Linked DNA regions of Homo sapiens: all the other regions are linked to region 2. The links are contacts of gene promoters, found by promoter capture Hi-C in blood cells and fetal thymus (Javierre and others, 2016). All regions are on one chromosome and are shown on one strand. The core of a region is centred on a gene start or on the middle of the fragment in contact, and the rest is flanking DNA. Distances in the headings are between cores, read along the strand shown.

Region 1 (3,371 bases), core at 45-2,544, 84 kb after region 2:
TGGGTCTCCAAACTGCTCCCAATGTCCTCACCCTCCCAGCTTCCCTTCCAAGATCTGTTCTGTGAAATGCAAAAGCCAGTCTTGACACCCTGAGAATGCTGGCCTTTGTCAGCAGATGAAGCAGATATTGTCGAGCTGGGACAAAAGTGCCCTTGTGATTTGTGGAGACCAGGCGTCCTCTGTGGGGTCCGGTGGGGTGGGCAGCAATGGGGCCCGGGAGTGGGAGGCACAGCCCGGCCTCCACCAAGGAGGCTGGGGCCAAGAGGATCGTGAGGGGTCGGGTATATTTTGGAAACATCTTGCGTGTTATGGGTTCTTGCACTTTTAGCACAGGCCTTGGGGGGGGGGGGGAGTCGAGCGGGAATCCCGGGGTCCTTTATTTATTCCTCATCCTGTGGGTCTCCTGTGTGGAGGATGCTTTGCCTACAACCAGTGACAGCCTGCAGGGGAACGGGAACAGGATGGGCCCCTCCCCAGGAGCAGATCCTTGATGAGGACCTTCAAGGTCAAGGGCTGCTGGTTGGGGGTTGGGGGGGACAGAAAAGCGAGGTGCCCATTGCTACCCCAAGCAGGGGCCAGCGAGGGAGGATGGCTTGCAGGCCCCCACCCCCCACCGCCCTACACTGACCCAGCCGGGACACAGCAAGGGGTGGGCATGAGGCCCCACACCCCTCGCCTCCCCAGACTTCCTCTCTTTCGCTGAGCAATTCTGGCTCATGAATCTACTCTCCTCGCCTTGTTCACGGAAGATGACGCCTCCTCTCTCTCTCTCTCTCTTTCTCTCTCTCTCCGGCTTCTTCTTCCCTGTGCCCCCCTCCCTGCGTCCCCGCCCCCACCCCCCCACCGTGTCCACCCTGGGTGGACCAGACCCAGACGCAGCTGGAGCACGCGCGCATTGGGGAGCTGGAACAGAGCCTGCTACTGGAGAAGGCGCAGGCCGAGCGGCTGCTCCGAGAATTAGCGGACAACAGGGTAACCGCGCCACCGCACCCGCCTGGCCCGCCAGCCACCTTGCCCTTTGATGCCCCCTCTGGCTTCTCTGTTTCATTATTGACTCTCTTTCTTTAGCTGCTATCATCTTTTTTATTTTTATTTTTTATTTTTGCATCCCCTTGGAGGAGGGAAGTCAAGATTTAGAAATGTGCTTATGTGGCCGGGTGCGGTGGCTCACGCCTGTAATCCCAGCACTTTGGGAGGCTAAGGAGGGTGGATCGCCTGAGGTCAGGAGTTCGAGACCAGCCTGGCCAACATGGTGAAACCCCATCTCTACTAAAAATATAAAAATTAGCTGGGCGTGGTGGCTCATGCCTGTGATCCCAGCTACTTGGGAGGCTGAGGCAGGAGAATCGCTTGAACCTGGGAGGTGGAGGTTGCAGTGAGCTGAGATCGTGCCACTGCACTCCAGCCTGGGTGACAGAGTGAGACTCCGCCTCAAAAACAAAACAAAAAGAAATGTGCTTATGTTCCCTGGCTCAGTGTTGCTTATTGGGGTGGAGTTGGGGGTGGGGGTGGTCTTTGTTTTTTGGGACTTGGCTCCCCAGCTTATTGCCCCAGCAGCTGAGAACGTCCTGTGAGACCCCCCAGTCTCCCCGATGCATTGCCATGACAAAGTGTTGGAGTTCCTGGGAATGTCCTGTCTCTATGTAGGCAGACCTAGAAACCACTGATCCATGTCTCCTGTCTCCCCAGCTGAGGAGGCTGGGGAGAGGAAGGAGGTCAGGAACTGCAGATCTCTTCCCGGTTTCTCTGGCCCAGAGAGCCTGAAACATGGGTGCAGGAGGGGGCTGGGCTGAAGGACCTGGGGCTGAGGAAGGGGTGGGGCTTTTGAGGGAGTGGAGGTGTCCCCAGGGAATGGTGTTATAATGGGTCCTGGAGCCATGGAACAGCTCTGCTTGTGGGTGAGGCTTCCAGACTCCTAGGGCATGGTTCTGAGTCCCTGCTCCAGGCCCCACAGTCCCCTCCAGGCTTACCATGCACGCCTGGGACCCAGCACTCTGTGCAGGCACTCACATGCGAACAGCCAGCCGGCCCCCCAGCAGTCCCTCTGAGAGCAAGCAAAAACAGGCAGCAAGTGATGACTGGAAAAGCACCCCATAAACAGTATGTAGATGTAGAAGGAGCAGTGGTCAGTTTCTGCATGTTGGTCTCCGTGCACAAGTGGCTGTGTGCATGTGTGCAGGTGTCCAGAGACACACAGGGTCCATTTGCACACACTGGCCATTGCTCAGTGACCATGTGCTTGTACGGTACACACTCATGTGCATGAAGACTGAACGCACAAACTGACCCAGTCACGGCGGACCGGCCGGAGCCCTCCAAATGCATCTTGATCTAGGGTTCAACCTGATGAAAACACAAAAACAGGGCTGGGTGTGGTGGCTCACACCTGTAATCCCAGCACTTTGGGAGGCCAAGGTTGGTGAATCATCTGAGGTCATCTGAGGTCAGGAGTTCAAGACCAGACTGGCCAACATGGTGAAACCCTGTCTCTATTAAAAATACAAAAATTAACTGAGCGGGGTGGTGCACGCCTGTAGTCCCAGCTACTTGGGAGGCTGAGACAGGAGAATCATTTGAACCGGGGAGGTGGAGGTTGCAGTGAGCCGAGATGGTGCCACTACACTCCAGCCTGGGCAAGAGAGTGAGACTCCATCTCGAAAAAAACAAAAACCAAAAAACAAAACAATAAGTTTATTGAACTAAAGGATACCTTCAGAAACAAAATGTTTAAAGCTTGTAATAGATTTAAAGCTTGAAAATATATCATTTTCATATCTATGACCATCAACGTGATCAAGGTGGTTTTTTGGAGAATGGAGCCTCTAAGAGTTTTTTGTTGAAAGATGGGTCTGGGAGCACCCTCTTCTGCTTTAAGCATTAAACTGGACCCTTCTTGGCCACTGCCTCCAGCCAGCCCCTTGGGCTGGATATCCTTCCTAAGGCAGGATAATGCAAAATTCACTGTGGCCTCTGTTCTTTAAAAAGAATGTTAACAAAAAAAAAATTTCTTAATAAAAATACAAAGAACTTTAACTCAGTTGGGCATGGTGGCTCATGCCCATAGAGTCCCAGCTGCTTTTGAGGCTGAGGCAGGAAGATTGCTTGAGCCCAGGAATTTGAGGGTACAGTGAGCTATTATTGCACGGCTGCACTCCAGCCTGGGCAACATAGCTAGACCCCCGTCTCTTTTAAAAAAAAAAAAAATGCTGGGCGGTGGCTCATGCCTATAATCCCAACACTTTGGGACGCCAGGGCGGGTGGATCACTTGAGGCTAGGAGTTCGAGACCAGCCTAGGCAAAAGAGTGACACCCCATCTTTACTAAAAAAACACAAAAATTCCCCAGGCGCATGGTGGTGCATGCCTGTAGTC
Region 2 (3,464 bases), core at 512-3,011:
ACCCCCTCAGGGCTGACCCCATGCCCAGCCTCCATCATTACAGCATTGCATGTTCGCTGAACTGAATTGAAACACTCTCCCCAATTTACAGATGGGGAAACTGAGGTCAAAATGTTTAGGCCAGGCACGGTGGCTCACAGCTGTAATCCCAGCACTTTGGGAGGCTGAGGTGGGAAGATCATCTGAAGCCAAGAGTTTAAGACCAGCCTGGACCCCAACATAATGAGACCCCATCTCTATAAAAAACACAAAAAATTAGCCGGGCATGGTGCATGCCCGTAGTCCCAGCTACTCTGGAGGCTGAGGCAGGAGGATCATTTGAGCCTGGGAGTTTGAGGCTGCAGTGAGCTGTAATCACACCACTGCACTCCAGCCTGGGTGACAGAGTGAGACCCCTTCTCTAAAAAAAGGTTCACTCACTTCTCAAAGATTATGGATACCAAGACAGTTGAGGGGTGGTAATGTTAACTTAGTAAGTTCATTCATTCATTCAACAAATATTACTGGATGTCTACCCTCTGCCAAGCATTGCACTGGGTCCCTTAGGGGATAGGAACAAGATCGTATGTGGCACTTCTCTCCCGCAGAACAGTGGTCTCACCATACAGACCACAACCTCCCCCAACACCCACATTCCTGCACTCAAGGGAAAAGCAGGGACATTTAAGCTGTGCTTTGAAGGGGGAATATGATTTGTCAAACAGAGAAAGGGGGCAGGGCAGGACTGGTAGAACGGCCAGCTAGGTCAAAGGCATCCAGGCGAGCTTATCAAGGGGGGACAGAGGGAAACCAAGCCACAGAAGCCAACCGCAGCCTGGGCATGGACAGGGGCTGGGGCTTGGTCACTGTTTAGTTCCTGAGCTGTCACTTGGCATCTGCCTCTCCACGCAGGAGGGGACCTGGCAGCTGCCTCAACTCCTCTGAAATAGCAGTACATGCATCCTGTCCTGGGGAGGGTTCATTTGTATCTTGGAAGCTGATCACCATGAGATCCTTTTTTTTTTTTCTTTTGGGACGGAGTCTCGCTCTGTCACCCAGGCTGAAGGGCCGTGGCTTGATCATGACTCACTGCAGCCTCGACCTCCTGGGCTCCAGCGATCCTCCCACCCCAGCCTCCCCAGTAGCTGGGACCGCAGGCGCGCGCCCAGCTAATTTTTGTATTTTTTGTAGAGACGAAGGTTACGTTGCCCAGGTTGTTCTCGGACTCTTGGCCTCAGGCGATCTGCACGCCTTGGCTTCCTGAAGTGCTGGGATTACAGGCGTGAGACACTGCCCAGGCTATGAGATCCTTGATAACCATGAGACCCTGTGCCACAGTTCCCCACCCACGCTGGCCCCAACACAGACCTGAAGTTTTCGCCCCAGCTGCACTGTCCCCCTCCTCATCCTTTCTGTCCAGCGCCAACAGCATCTCACCTTCCCAAGCTGCCGTCCTTCCCAATGACCAGAGACATCTTTGCAAGCATAGCATGGCTGGAGGATGCGTTTCACCAAACGCGATGTAAGCACCACCAGGTGCCCAGCGCGGAGGTGGATGTGGGCGAACCCTGGACGCCCCACAAAGGACAGCTGCGGCCTGGGAAGGGAAGGAGATGGAGCGGGGAGAGGGGGAAGAGGTTGCTCCGCGTTTTCCGCCCGCCCGCCTGCTTTCCGCGAGGCACTGAGGCCTGAAAACCGCGAGGCCGCCCACGCGCGCCTGACCCGCCCCCCCCTCCCGCCCGCCCCAGGCCCCGCCCTCCCGCGCCCGCCCCTGCGCCGGCCCCTTTTGTTCCCTCCCGGAGCCGGGCCGCTGGCTCCGCTGGCTCCGCTGGCTCCGCGGGCGCTCAGCTCGGCTCGGCCGCGGGGCGCGCAGGCGGCTGCTGGGCGGCCTCGGTGCGCGCCTCCCGCCTTCCCAGAGACGTGGCGCGAGGCCCGGGCCCTGAGCACCTATCGCGGGGATCCCCGGCGCCAGGAGGGGGTGCAGCCGGTGGGCAGCGCCGCGCAGGGAGGGGCCGCAGCATCCTCGCCCCCCAGCGCGCCCGGGCCCGAGAGGAGGAGGCCGGGGCTCTCCGGGCCTCCCGCCGCTTAGCCTGATGCTGGAAGGACGAAGGTAGGGGCTGCTGGAGGGGCCGAGGGAGGGGGTCGCGCGGGCAACAAAGGACGGAGAGATGCGGGGGGCGGCGGCCTGGCCGAAAGCGGGGCTGCGGGCCCGGAGGCATTGTCGGGGCGTGGGCGGGGGCGGGAGGGTTCGAGGCCGGCCGGTGGGCGTGGGCGGGAGCTGGCTGGGGTGTGCCCCAACTTCCCCGTTGCTTGTAGGAGAGGAGGGGGCACTGCTTGGGGTGCCAGGGTTGGGGGCTATTCCCGGGCTGCGGGTCCCCCTGTTGAAGGCATCACCAGCCTCATCGGGGTCCCTACCCTCGGACGGGGGTTTGGCCCTTCTGTTGGAGGGTCGCCCGTACCCCCTTCCAAGGGCAGAGCAAGACGGCTGGACGCGCCGCAGGGCTCTCTGGGCTCACAGAGCCTGGGGAGCACAGCCTGGTGGGCGCGGCCATGCAGCCCCCATCTCCAAACCTGGGGTCTGGGAGAACAGGGACTGCCCCCCTCTCCTCCCTGCTACACCCTCTGGGGTCGCCTGGCCGATGGCCTTTGCAAAACTTGGTTGAAGTGCTTGGCTGAGGTGGGGTAGGAGGAGATTGAGGCGGGCGGCTTCTCTCAGGGGGTGTCCCCCCAAGCTGGCGCTGGTGGCTGGTGAGGCAGCAGATTTTCTGCCCTCCTCCCGGGGAGGGGCGGCGGCCGCGGAGGATGCTTGGCTGAACCTTCAGGGCCCGCCCGTTTGGACCTTTCAGGCAGAGCTTGGGCCGAGCGGGTGCCCACTGGGCACTGCCACGCAGGCCCCAGCCCCACCCTGGGAAGGACGGGCAGAGGGAGCACCTTGGGGGGAAATCACCCACCCAGCAGTGTGTCCCCCAACGTCTGAGACCCCTCCTCTCACTTCTGGGTGAGAAGTGGGGGTCTGGGATGAGGGGGTCTGCCGTCACTCTTGCGCGATGCCTGAGGGAGGTGGGTGGGGTGGCCTAGGGCTGTGGGCAGAGGAGGAGGAGGGTGCGGGGAGCACCACGTGTGTGCTTCAGAAGCCTCTTCCCTTTCGGTTGTAAATGTAAACAATAAGCCCTTCATTCAGCTGCTGTTACCTGGCCTGGCACTTCTAGGGGCTGGCTGGTCCACAGGACAGCAGCCTCGGTGTCCCCAAAAAGTGCAGCCCCGGGGGTTGATGAGTGCATTAGTGGGGAAGCTGGGGGCATAGAGGGGGTCCCCTGGAGGATGGGGCAGACCAGGAAGCTTCATAGAGCATCTTGCAGAAGTTTGCTGCCAGGTTGCCTGAAGGGGGTTTCGTGCAGGAGAAATAGCGTGAATAAGGGCTTGGAGTCAGAAAAGGAGGCTATTGGGTTAGAGAAACAGCTTAGGATTTAAGGAACTTAGACCTG
Region 3 (3,656 bases), core at 29-2,528, 110 kb before region 2:
TAGTTGTGTTTAATAACCAGTGCAGTTGTCAGGAAACAGTATTGAACCACTGCTTTTTTCCCCCGAGCCTGTAAGGGCATGTCCCCAGCAGCCAGGGAGAGAACCAGGGACTGCATTGTTCAGCAAGCAAATCAAAACAAAATTCCAAATGATCAAGAGTTGATTGTACCAGATCTTGAATGGACTTTGTTTTGCAGTTTGCTAAATTATCTTTTTGAGGTTCCAGTTTCTCATCTACCATTGGCAGTAAAGTGCAGAGTAATACTGATTTTATATTTCTAATTGCAACAAAGCTATGAGTGCTTAGTGGAAAACCACCGATCCTGAGAATTAGGGTGGAAATTGGAGGTGGCAAGAATTGAGGTGGCTGAAATGGTGCCATCTAAAAACTGGCAAAACTCCAAATTTATTCTTTATCAGGATTCAGTTAGGGAGTTTAGAATTCTTTTTTAAATAGAGATGGGTTTCACTATGTTGCCCAGGCTGGTCTTGAACTCTTGGACTCAAGTGATCCTCCCGCCTCAGCCTCCCAAAGTGTTGGGATTACAGGCATGAGCTACCACGCCCAGCCTAGGAGTTTAGAATTCTAACCTTTGAATCTTTAAACTTAGCATGTCTGTCTAAATTTCTGAGCATATTTTTATCCAAAATTTTTATGGTGGTAAAATATACATAACATAAAATGTGCCACTTTACCCATTTTTCAGTATACATTTCAGGGATATTGAGTGTATTCGTAATGTATAACCATCACCACTATCCAGCTCCTTAACTCTTACAGCTTGTAAAACTAAAACCCTGTCCCCTTTGAATAGTAATTCCCTATTGCCCTCCTTCCCCCAGGTCCCTGGCAACCACCATTCTACTTCCTGTCTCTGAGCATATTTTAAGATTTGTATGTAATAGGAAGGAAAGCAGTGTATAAAAACTACAGCTAGTTTTCACTGATGCTAGGGCCTGTAAAGCTATTGAAAAGCTTATTTTAAAATGCTGTTTACATGTCAAATGTCAAGTCGTTTAGGTTTGTTATCCTTCTTCACTCCAAGTGTTCCATTGCTTAGTTCCAAACCATTATCCTCTATGAAAAGTGTTACCAGAAATATTTGGATTTGCTAAGAGGTCTCTGCATGACGGTTCATGTAAAAGCCCTGGCTTTGGAATAAGGCAGACCAGAGTTTCATCAGTTCAGCCATGTGTTAGTTGTGTGATCTGAAGTAAGTTTCTTCACCTCTCTGAGCCTCGTTTTCCCCACATATGAGTTAGAAACATGTATTTATTTATGAAATAGGCTCTCCTTCTGTCACCCAGGCTGGAGTGCAGTGGCAGGATCATAGCTCAGTGCAGCCTCGACTTCCCAGGCTCAAGCCATCCTCCCACCTCAGCCTCCCAAGTAGCTGGGATTACAGGGTGCGCCACCATGCCCAGCTAATTTTTGTATTTTTTTGTAGAGACAGAGTGTCTCTATGTTGCCCAGGCTAGTCTCAAACCCCTGGGCTCAAGGGATCTTCCTGCCTCAGCCTCCCAAGGCTCATTGTGTGAGCCACAGTACCCAGCCTTCAATTTATGTTTCTATTAGAAATTAAGCTTTGTGGCTGGGTGCAGTGGTTCATGCCTGTTATCCCAGCACTTTGGAAGGCCGAAGCAGGCGGATCACTTGTGGCCAGAAGTTTGAGACCACCCTGACCAACGTGGCAAAACCCCATGTCTACTAAAAATACAAAACGGGTGTGGCGGCACATACCTGTAATCCTAGCTACTTGGGAGGCTGAGGCAGGAGAATTGCTTGAACCAGGGAGGCGGAGGTTGCATTGAGCTGAGATCATGCCACTGCACTCCTCCAGCCTGGGCGACAGAGAGAGACTGTCTCCAAAAAAAAAAAAAGAAAAATTAAGCTTAGTGTTCTGGAAAGACTTCACAATTTTAAGGAGTCTCCCTGGAAGCTTAGAACGTACAAAGCAGACTCTGAATGTCTTTCCAGGATCACACTCTGGCTTCCAGCTTCCCCTGGAAGGTTCAGGAGAGTATTTGTCGCCTGGTTGCTTTTACATCATGCTGATTAGACCTGCACACCCGGGCATGAAATGAGTGTGATTGCATCATTTTCATAGAACCTAATGGCAGCTGTATGTACGTCTAAGACTTCTTTTGTGTAAGTCGAATGTTCTTCGAAGTTTCCCCACGTCATGATTTATGTGATTTTCCGTCTTGATCAGGACCTTCTGAAGGAGCTCAAGTATGTGGCTGCTCCACGGTTGATGAGTCTCTGGTTAAGCATGGCCTTCCAGTTCAGGGCTAGGGGGGCCGTCACCTCCCTTTGTTCTGCACATTCTTCTCCTGTCTTTCATGTATACTCACATTTTTGGAGCCTTCTGTGTACTCACATTTTTGGAGCCTTCTAAATGTCTGGCTTAATAGAACACAGCTGGATTCTCATACCTGCATCTGTCTCCACTCTTGGAATGTGTTGCTTTGGTTGACTTTTATGGAGCAGCTCAATCCTTGCACAGATAAATAGTTGGAAATGGGAGGAGTAATCAAATAATTCTGGATATTCATATTTGATTCTATACCAAAACTCAATAAGCAGTAGTTTCTATGAAGGTTAGTTGCAATGTGAAACCTAAAACCTTATCAATAAACTCTTCATACTTTTACATTAGAGTTCATCATTTGGCTGGGCGCGGTGGCTCACTCCTGTAACCCCAGGACTTTGGGAGGCCAAGGCGGGCGGATTACCTGAGGTCAGTAGTCTGAGACCAGCCTGGCTAACATGGCAAAGCCCCATCTCTACTAAAAACACAAAAACTAGCTGGGCATGGTGGTGGGCCCCTGTAGTCCCAGCTACTTGGGAGGCTGAAGCCATAGAATCACTTGAACCTGGGAGGTGGAGTTTGCAGTGAGCCCAGATTGCGCCACTGCACTCCCGCCTGGGCGACAGGGTGAGACTCTGTATCAAAAAAAAAAAAAAAAAGTCACTTTATCTTGTACTCCGACTGGATCCTTTACCAGTGCATACATTTGTAAGGTGTTGGTGATTTGGAAAGGACCTGTTCACTGAGCCAGGCAGAGCCATGCAGATGTTCCAGATGTTGGTACATTTTGTTATACAGTATCAAAGTCACATTCACCATAGCTGTTAGAAAAGTCTCTGAGTATTGAAAGACTGTCAGGCTTATGTTGATGGATACAGGTTTTCCGAAACTCTTTTTTGCTTGAAAGCTTAAATTTTACCATTGGCAACAAATACTGTTATTTTGGCCAGGTGCTGTGGCTCATGTCTGTAATCCCAACACTTTGGGAGGCCATGGCAGGAGGATCACTCTAGCCCAGTCTGGACAATATGTCCAGACCTGGTCTTTTCAAAAATAAAATTAGCTGGTGTGGTGGTATATGCCTATAGTCCCACCTACTTGGGAGGCTGAGGCTAGAGGATCACTTGAGTCCTGGAGATTGAGGCTGCAGTGAGCAGTGATTGCACCACAGCACTCAAATCTGGGCAACAGAGCAAGACCCTGTCTCAAAACAAAAAACCCAAATACTGTTCTTTTACTTCAAGGAACAGACTTAACTTCATTTTTAAAAAACTTAGTACCCATGTCTGAATTAACCATAGTTTGTTCTATAGAAAGAACAGCTAGTTCAGCTTGTAGCTCAAG

What was found. Contacts are between HindIII fragments. The CHiCAGO score rates a contact against its expected background, and 5 or more counts as called.
Region 1: a contact is called between a fragment that was not itself captured here and the fragment with the promoter of CLIP2 in region 2, in 3 of 17 cell types (M0 macrophages, M1 macrophages and megakaryocytes). The highest score is 6.9, in M0 macrophages.
Region 3: a contact is called between a fragment that was not itself captured here and the fragment with the promoter of CLIP2 in region 2, in 4 of 17 cell types (total B cells, naive B cells, fetal thymus and 1 more). The highest score is 5.9, in total B cells.

Annotation. Positions count from the first base shown.
Region 1 is chr7:74,372,065-74,375,435 of GRCh38, forward strand. It overlaps CLIP2 (CAP-Gly domain containing linker protein 2), which reads left to right. Exons shown (of 17, transcript NM_003388.5): 9 at 868-972. Among named protein-coding and RNA genes, the nearest start is that of GTF2IRD1, 80 kb to the right of the region's middle. RefSeq lists an enhancer at 89-1,087. The HindIII fragment of the contact is 2,873 bases long and covers 1-2,731 here.
Region 2 is chr7:74,287,646-74,291,109 of GRCh38, forward strand. CLIP2 (CAP-Gly domain containing linker protein 2) reads left to right here and starts at 1,762. Exons shown (of 17, transcript NM_003388.5): 1 at 1,762-2,089. LOC107986742 (a long non-coding RNA gene) reads right to left here and starts at 1,662. Exons shown (of 2, transcript XR_001745024.2): 1 at 1,417-1,662. RefSeq lists silencers at 1,681-2,150, 2,171-2,240 and enhancers at 2,116-2,760, 2,761-3,404. The HindIII fragment of the contact is 3,709 bases long and covers 1-3,316 here.
Region 3 is chr7:74,176,678-74,180,333 of GRCh38, forward strand. The region is part of intron 1 of EIF4H (eukaryotic translation initiation factor 4H); the gene reads left to right. Among named protein-coding and RNA genes, the nearest start is that of EIF4H, 4.2 kb to the left of the region's middle. RefSeq lists enhancers at 2,771-3,271, 3,272-3,656. The HindIII fragment of the contact is 608 bases long and covers 975-1,582 here.